Linked DNA regions of Homo sapiens: regions 1 and 2 are each linked to region 3. Evidence: promoter capture Hi-C in human tissues and cell types (Jung and others, 2019). All regions are on one chromosome and are shown on one strand. Each heading gives the region's core, a stretch centred on a gene start or on the middle of the fragment in contact. The rest is flanking DNA. Distances are from core to core; before and after follow the strand shown. Region 1 has its middle 2.5 kb from the start of TRT-CGT4-1. Region 2 overlaps RAB11FIP4 (RAB11 family interacting protein 4). Region 3 holds the start of RHOT1 (ras homolog family member T1).

What was found. The method cuts DNA at HindIII sites, captures the fragments that hold promoters and counts their contacts. A contact is called where the count stands out against the background at its distance.
Region 1: a fragment that was not itself captured here is called in contact with the fragment with the promoter of RHOT1 in region 3 in 1 of the 25 tissues and cell types used here (lymphoblastoid cells).
Region 2: a fragment that was not itself captured here is called in contact with the fragment with the promoter of RHOT1 in region 3 in 1 of the 25 tissues and cell types used here (dorsolateral prefrontal cortex).

What each region holds. Positions count from the first base shown.
Region 1 is chr17:31,551,186-31,553,977 of GRCh38, reverse strand. No RefSeq gene overlaps it. Among named protein-coding and RNA genes, the nearest start is that of TRT-CGT4-1, 2.5 kb to the right of the region's middle. The HindIII fragment of the contact is 6,994 bases long and covers 1-2,792 here.
Region 2 is chr17:31,419,842-31,422,768 of GRCh38, reverse strand. All of the region lies in intron 1 of RAB11FIP4 (RAB11 family interacting protein 4), which reads right to left. Among named protein-coding and RNA genes, the nearest start is that of RAB11FIP4, 30 kb to the right of the region's middle. The HindIII fragment of the contact is 9,425 bases long and covers 1-2,927 here.
Region 3 is chr17:32,141,096-32,144,105 of GRCh38, reverse strand. RHOT1 (ras homolog family member T1) reads right to left here and starts at 1,604. Exons shown (of 20, transcript NM_001033566.3): 1 at 1,377-1,604. The coding sequence starts at 1,413. LOC105371730 (a long non-coding RNA gene) reads left to right here and starts at 971. Exons shown (of 2, transcript NR_136413.1): 1 at 971-1,081; 2 at 1,393-2,880. RefSeq lists silencers at 1,324-1,383, 1,414-1,643 and an enhancer at 2,104-2,273. The HindIII fragment of the contact is 2,047 bases long and covers 596-2,642 here.

The DNA of each region.
Region 1 (2,792 bases), core at 151-2,650, 590 kb after region 3:
TTCCAGCTGCTGGAAACACAGACATGAGTGAGACACCATCCAAGTCCTAAGGGGCTTCCAAGTATGGTGTGAGACACACAGAGGGGTCCCAGACAAGAAACTGAGGGACTCCTTACCTGGGGGAATCAGAGGCTTCTCAGAGGAGGTAATACCAGAGTCTCGCCACAGGCAACCAACCTGACTCCGATCCAGCGTCTGGATCTAACTGCCAATTTGATTTGCAGGAAGTACTGAGGACTGAGGAGCTTACTGGGTTGCACCAAGAGTTTGCAGTAAGCAAGATCTAGACTGTGGGAAACCCTCCAGGTGCAGTGGCCCAGGGTCCTCAACAGACACACTGCCAGGAAATGAAAGGGAAGGAAGGGGTACCTCCTGATTGAAAAAAAAAGCTTCTATCCATTTTTTTAAATGAGCAAAGTTAAACTATAGTGTACAAAGATGTCGCGATGCTCAATTAGGTGATAAACTAAAATGCAAGGAAGTGATTAGAGGGTAAGGATACTTATGGCCCTGGGGAGGTTGTGATTAGGGGGGGACACACAAAAAGGGTTTCTGGGGTATCCGGCAAAATTCTCTAATTTGGATAGTGTTCCCCTTATAATTCATTAAGGCATTCACTTGATTTGTGTGGTTTTCAAATTTGTTTTATTGTATGGTAAAAGACTTAAAAACATATTTCTTGGGCTGGGCACGGTGGCTCACGCCTGTAATCCCAGCACTTTGGGAGGCTGAGGCAGGCAGATCACGAGGTTAGGAGTTCGAGACCAGCCTGGCCAACATGGTGAAACCCTGTCTCTATTAAAAATACAAAAATTAGCCGGGCATGGTGGCAAGTGCCTGTAATCCCAGCTACTCGGGAGGCTGAGGGAGAAGAACTGCTTGAACCCAGGAGGCGGAGGTTGTAGTGAGCCAAGATCGCACCACTGCACTCCAGCCTGGGTGACAAGAGTGAAACTCCGTCTCAAAAAAAAAAAACAACAAAAAAAAAAGCATATTTCTCCAGGCTGGTATTGGGCTAAAACTTATAGAATGAGGCATAATATATAGACTTGCCAAATTCTGGTCTATGTTTTAAAAAATATCCTGGAGGTTTTAGCTGCCCACAAATGACTGTGTCTGCCTGCGTGGCTCTCAAAATGCAGTACCAGAGGCCCTATGTTTTGCCCTGGACACTAAGGAGGAGCAAAAGGGAGGACTCTACCAGGGGTAACCAGCATGGGCGGAGCCTTTGCAGCTCCAGCGCTTCCCATCAGGGAGGACTGCTTATAACTCCCTGGATGGAGGAGCCCTGGTCACATCTCATCATGAGGTTGCAATGGTCAAGCCCCATTGCAGAAGGGGCTACTATGATGGGTGGGGTGGCCTGTGATCCCCTTGCTTCTGCAAGGTCCAGGCTCTGAGGTAGAAACCTAGAATTTCAGGACACAAGGCATTTAGGACATAGCTCTTTCAACTGTAGAATTTTACAACTAAGGAAGCTGAAGTCCAGGGAGTATCAGCGATTTAATGGAGGTCATGCAACAAACTCAACATATGTGTCCCTTTCTGCCCCTGCCTTCAATTCTGTCCTTATTCTTTAAGCCAATGACCTACCCCTGGCTCCACAGGGGTGCATGTAGATACCTGCTGGCCTTCAAGGTAATTACAAGATTTCTGTTCCCCAGGCTCACCCTGGTGCTTGTATCTGACTTGCCTTCACTTCTAGTTCCTCTCACAAAACTTGACCTGGAATCCATACTTGACCCCTGCCTCTGGTCCTTCACTTTTGGAAGCCCATGTTTCCCCAAAATCTTTACACTGACCTCTTCTGTACCTTGCACTTTTTTTTGAGACAGTTTCTCATTGTCTCTCAGGCTGGAGTGCAGTGGCACCATCTCAGCTTACTGCAAACTCGACCCTCTGGGCTCAAGCGATTCTCCCACCTCAGCCTCCAGAGCAGTTGGGACTACAGGCATGTGCCACCATGCCCGCTAATTTTTTTGTATTTTAAATAGAGACAGGGTTTCGCCATGTTGGCCAGGCTGGTCTCAAACTCCTGACCTCAAGTGATCTGCCTGCCTCAGCCTCCCGAAGTGCTGGGATTACAGGCGTGAGCCACTGCGGCTGGCAGTTTTTGTATTTTTTATAGAGATGGGATTTTGCTGTGTTGCCCAGGCTGGTCTCAAACACCTGACCTCAAGTGATCCATCCACCTTGGCCTCCCAAAGTGCTAGGATTACAGGTGTGAGCCACTGCACCCGGCCCCTTGCATTTCTCTTATATTGACTTCGGCTTGGCTTGTCCCTCTGCCCTCCGCTGGGGTGGAATTCTCTGCTCCAGCTCCTTCAGAAAACCCAATGTTTGGCCGGGCACGGTGGCTCATGCCTGTAATCCCAGCACTTTGGGAGGCCGAGGTGGGTGGATCACGAGGTTAGGAGATGGAGACCATCCTGGCTAACACGGTGAAACCCCGTCTCCACTAAAAAATACAAAAAAAGTTAGCCGGGCATGGTGGCGGGCGCCTGTAGTCCCAGCTACTCGGGAGGCTGAGGCAGGAGAATGGCGTGAACCCAGGAGGCGGAGCTTGCAGTGAGCCGAGATCGCGCCACTGCACTCCAGCCTGGGCCACAGAGCGAGACTCCGTCTCAAAAAAAAAAAAAAAAAAAAAAAAAACGGAAAACACAATGTTCAGTCTTGAAGCTCCTTCTCATCAGGAATTTGAAGGGACAGGATTCAAGGCAATATCCAGTAGAGCAGGACTTTTCACCTTCCTATTTCTATGCCTGAATATCTGGACTCTGTTTAGGCTGAGG
Region 2 (2,927 bases), core at 414-2,913, 720 kb after region 3:
AAATAGATGCTAGAAAAAAGGAACCAAATGGAAATTTTAGAACTAAAAAATACAATATATGAAATAAAAGTTCATTGGATTGGATCAATAGCAGAACGGAAATCACAGTACAAACAGTGATAGAACAACAGAAATTGCCTAATCCAAACAAGGAAAATTACCAAGGATTCAGACAAACATTATATTAAAGGGTCAACTCACCAAGAAGATACATAACAATCCTAAATGCATATGTCCCTAAAAACAGAGCTTCAAAATACATGAAGCCAAACTAATAAAATTGAAAGGAGAAATAGACAAATTGACAATCATAGTTGGAGACTTCAACACTCCTCTAGAGAATATAACCAGTTAGATAGAAAATCTAATTTTTAACAGTAGAGCTAGTTAGATGAAAAATCAACAAGGGATCTAAAAGGTCTGAATACCACCACTAACCAGCTTAACCTAATTGATGTTTATCGAACACACCACCCAAGAATAGCAGAATACACGTTCTCTTCATGTAAACATGGAACTGTCACCAAGGTAGATCATGTAGATCATATCTTGGACGATTAAACAAACTATAATACTTTTTTTGTGTGTGGTGGGGAGGCAGGATCTTACTCTGTCACCTTGGCTGGAGTGCAGCGGTGTGATCATAGCTCACTGCAGCCTCCACCTCCCAGACTCAAGCAATACTCCCACCTCAGCCTCCCGAGTAGCTGGGACTACAGGGATATGTCAACACGCCCAGCTAATTTTCTTGTAGAGACGGGGGGTCTCACTATGTTGCCCAGGCTGGTCTCGAACTCCTGGCCTCAAGAGATCCTCCTGCCTTAGCCTCCCAAAGTGCTGGGATTACAGGCATGAGCCACAGAGTCTGGCAACAAATTTTTAAAAACTGAAATTATAAATGTATGTCTTGCCGGGCGTGGTGGCTCACATCTATAATCCTGGCACTTTGGGAGGGGCTGAGGCAGGTGGATCACCTGAGGTCAGGAGTTTGAGACCAGCCCGGCCAACATAGTGAAACCCCATCCCTACTAAAAATACAAAAAATTAGCTGGGCGTGGTGGTGGGCACCTGTAATCCCAGCTTACTAGGGAGGCTGAGGCAAGAGAATCACTTGAACCCAGGAGGCGAAGTTTGCAGTGAGCCGAGATTGCGCTATTGCACTCCAGCCTGGGCAACAAGAGCAAAACTCTGTCTCAAAAAAAAAAAAAAAAAAGTCCTGTGACTATAATATAATTAAACTAAAAATCAGTCTCAGGGCTCAGTGGCTCACGTTTGTAATCCCAGAGCTTTTGGAGGCTGAGGCAGGTGGATCACTTGAGGTCAGGAGTTCAAGACCAGCCTGGGCAACATGGTGAAACCCCATCTCTACTAACAATACAAAAATTAGCTGGGCATGGTGTCCTGTGCCTATAATCCCAGCTACTTGAGAGGCTGAAGCACGAGAATTACTTGAACCTGGGAGATGGAGATTTCGGTGAGCTGAGATCACACACTGCACTTCAGCCTGGGCAACAGAGCGAGACTGTCTCAAAAAAAAAGAAAAGAAAAGAAATTTTAAAACAAGCAAAAAAATCAAAAACAGAAAGGCATCTGAAAAATCCTCAAATACTTGGGAATTAGGCAGTATGTGTCTAAATAATTCATGAGTCAAAGATGAAGTATCTTTTTGTTTGTTTGTTTGTTTGAGATGGAGTTTTGCTCTTGTTGCCTAGGCTGGAGTGCAATGGCGTGATCTCGGCTCACTGCAACCTCTGCCTCCCGGGTTCAAGCAATTCTCCTGCCTCAACCTCCCGAGTAGCTGGGATTACAGGCATGCACCACCATGCCTGGCTAATTTTGTATTTTTTAGTAGAGATGGGGTTTCTTCATATGGGTCAGGCTGGGCTTGAACTCTCGACCTCAGGTGATCCACCCCCTTCGGCCTCCCAAAGTGCTGAGATTACAGGCATGAGCCACCGCACCCAGCCCCAAAGTCTCAAGAGAAAATAAAAATAATTTAAACTAAATGAAAATGAAAATACAATACCATAAAATTCAAGCCCAAAGCAAAAGGGAGGAAAGAAATAATAAAGATAAGAGCAGAAATTAATAAAATTAAAAATGAGACTGGTAGAGAAAAATCAACAAAACCCAAATCTGGTTTTTTTTTTGAAAAGATTAACAAAACTGATGCATCTCTAACCAGAATGACAGAGAGAAAGAGAGAGAGAATACAAATCACCAATATAAAAAATGAGGCTGAGCACAGTGGCTCACACCTGTCATCCCAGCACTTTGGGAGGCCAAGGTGGGAGGATCGCTTGAGACCAGGCATTCAAGATCAGCCTGGGCAACATAGCAAGACCCCATCTCTACAAAAGATTAAAAAAATTAGCCAAGCATGGTGGCACATGCCTCTGGTCCCAGCTACCGGGGTTGGGTGAGGTGGGAGGATCGCTTGAGCCAGGGAGGTCAAGGCTGCAGTGAGCCTTGATTACACCACTGCACTCTAGCCTGGGTGACAGAGTGTGACCTTGTCTCGAAAAAAAAGAAAACAGAGATATCATTACAGTCTTACATCCTTTAAAAGGCTAATAAGGGAACACTAGAAACACTTCTACACACATAATTTCTACAACTTAGATGAGCTAATGGACCAATTCTTTGAAAAACACAAACTACCAAAACTCATGCAAGAAGAAATAGATAATCTGAACAGTCCTTGAGTGATTAAAGAAATTAATTTCCCAATTTATATCCTTCCAAAAAGGAAAACCTCAGGACCAGATAATTTCACTAAGTATTTAAGGAAAATATACATAAATTCTACACTACCTCTTCCAGAGAATAGAAGAGCCACTTCCCAACTCGTTTTATGGGGCCAGCAATAATACCCTGTTACCCAAACCAAACAAAAGCAATATAAGAAAACTACAAACCTGCTGGGC
Region 3 (3,010 bases), core at 355-2,854:
GTTAAATAACACCTTCCTGAACCTTGTCAAGGAAGTCCATGAAAAATACAGATTAAGATATAGTTATAAATAAAAATAAAAATTTACAACTGCAAATCAAAAAGTAAACTATGGCTGGCTAAGCTTACTCCTAAATTCTAATTCTAAAGGAAGATTTCTCCAAACAGCAGGTGGATGAAATTTCAATGAACTCAAAGAACACTACAGAAGAGGGTAAAAACGTGTTAACTTTCTTCCTTGGGATTCCATCACGGTGACCCTGAGGGGTTACCAAGAATGAAATAATGGTTTAAAACAGAATGCTTCGAAACAGCAATGGCAGACTATTAACGAATGTATTAACTCTTTAAAACAAACAATCCAGTTATCCCTGGCCCACTTTCTTATTTTAGTCCTAGCAACTGAGTTACATAACTTGCAGAGTGAAATCAAGAAGTCCCCGCTGTTGCGTCCTCATGTCAGTGAACAGAGGGAACTCTCCTTTATTATATTTTCAAAAGGTGAAATGTATGAAATTTCTGGGTGGGGGGAGATATCAAATGTCTGTGTGCCTGTGGTTATTAATAAGTTAACTACGAAGTAACTATGGAATAAATAATGCTTAAAAAGAGGGCAAAGATTACGCTTTAGGGTAACAACAATTGGACCCTCCCCAGATAATTCTAATTCATTGAGCGCTTGCATAACTCGAAGTTGAGTAAAAATTTTTGATGAAATATCTCGAGTACGAGGAGTTAGTCCAATGCAAAGTACAAGTACTGCTAAAAAGGATCCGGCCCTTTCCACTACTCATATCTTAATGTCAATACATAGAGAGAGTGAAGACTGCGAGTGCCAAAAAAATGCAGAAACCTGACCTTGCCCACAAGTCGAATAGTTCTGCACCCCTCCCCCAGCTTCCCCGGGAGCCGGTTCACGCAATCCCTATTGGTCAGTCTGCTTATTCCAGCACCTGCCTGGCAGTGATAAGGGAATCTCCAGAAGACAAGAAGGTCTGAAAGGAGGCGGCCTGGGAAACTGTGAGGCCCAGAAGGACAGGGTTCGAAGAGGAAAAGGAGGAGAGAAGCTTCGGAGGGATGAGGTCGGGCGGTTAGGGCTAATAGGGACATGGCTTGGGAGGACGGCTGGGGAACAGGGAAAGGAGATCTCTGGAGGGCCCAGGTGAGGTGACAGGGTGAGGGCCGCCGGCGGCCAGCCAAAAGAGAAGAGTGAAGGGGCTGGAAGGCCTAGGAACGCGGAGAAAGGCGAGCGGAGCTGTGAGGCGCGAGAAGGGCCGGGGCTGCAAAGGTTGGGGCTGCAGGGGCGACAGGGGCGACAGGGGCTGCAGGGGCAGGGAGGGCAGGGACTCAGGGGCCGGCCAGAGGGTGCGGACTCACGTTCTCCCACCAGCAGGATCCGCACGTCTTTCTTCATGTCGGCGGCTCTCGGGGGCCGGCCTCCGCCCGCACGCACGGAGTGGACTCCTCTCACCAGGAGCACCCACCCCACGGCGCCACCTGCCAGCCTCTTCGGCCGCCGGGGCCCGCCGCGCCGCCCCCTCAGTTGCTTCCCCGCAAGAGAGCCGGGACAGCGCCAGCTCCGCCTCCTCCGGCCCAGCGGGCTGTGGCGGCGGCGGCGGCGGCGGCGGCGGCGGCGGCGGCGGCGGCGGCGGCGGGGACGACGGCACGCGGCGAGGGACACGCGCTTTCGGAACGCGAACGCGCTCTGCGCCGGAACAGCGCTCCCGCTGTCAGGCCGCCGCAGCGCAGGCCCAGGGAGCCTCGCCCACCCTCCTTTGGGCACCGCGACCCCGGAGACACTTGGGCCAGGAATTTGAATGGCGGATTCCCTGGTTTAACCCCGTTTATTTTATAGATAGGGACAGAAATTCCCTGTTCAAAGTCACATAGCTAGAGCTTGGCAGTGACTCAGAGCAGGGATCTTCTCACCAGACCATAAACTCCGGGAGGGCAGCGATCAGCTTGCATGGTTTTCAGCTGCGTCCCCACGTTATTGGATAGGGCCGTCAGAAAATGCTTGATCGAGTAGGGCGACTGGCTCCCAGGATCCGGCGCTTTCCACTCCCCAAAGCCCGTCACCCTAGTTGCTTTTGCCTCTGATGCTTATAAAATACGATTATAAGATTCGTTTTTACGCTGTGTGAACAAGACTCCTTTCTTTATAACCAAACTAAGTGACTTTTTTTCTGTCTATGTAGTTTATTTTATGGCAGGGTTTTCGGACACTCTTCTTTACTCAGGCTTACCCAGCGTAATGCTAGACACGGAGGTGGCACTCGATAATAAACTCTAGATGATTTTTCTAACATTGCCTTAATTTTCTCGTGACCCTCTCCATCTGGAGGAATTTGTTGTTACATGCTTAATGTTTGGTACACAATGGCAAATATATATATATACATACGCGTGCGAATATATATCACATCCCTAATACTTGGCACACAGTGGGAAATATAAAATACATAAATTAATGAGGAAGCACTATCTGTGCATAATGTACATTTTTTCTATCTTAAATATTACACAATAAACACTTAAAGGGAATGAAATGTGCGTAATACCAACTTCCCTTTCTCCTAGGAGAAGTCATGTGGTCTCTTGCAGCAGTTAAGAGTTGCTGGCAAATTTCCTGGGTTTGAATCTAGGCTCCACATAATAGCTCTGTGATCTCGACTAAGTGCTTTTATTTTTACTTCCCTCAGCCACTGTTCCTTCTTCTGTAGCATGGAAATAATGATGATAATACCTTCCTCTTGAGATGGTTGTGAGTAATAAATACTATAATACTTGTCAAGCATTTGGTACAGTGCCAGACTCAGAGCGTGTGCTCTACTGATCTCAGCTATCATTATTATATTAAAAAGTCACTAAAAAGTTGTAATCCACAGATTTTTTGTTTTGTTTTGGTTTTGTTTTGAGACGGAGTCTCGCTCTGTCGCCCAGGCTGGAGTGCAGTGGCGCAATCTCGGCTCACTGCAAGCTCCGCCTCCTGGGTTCACGCCATTCTCCTG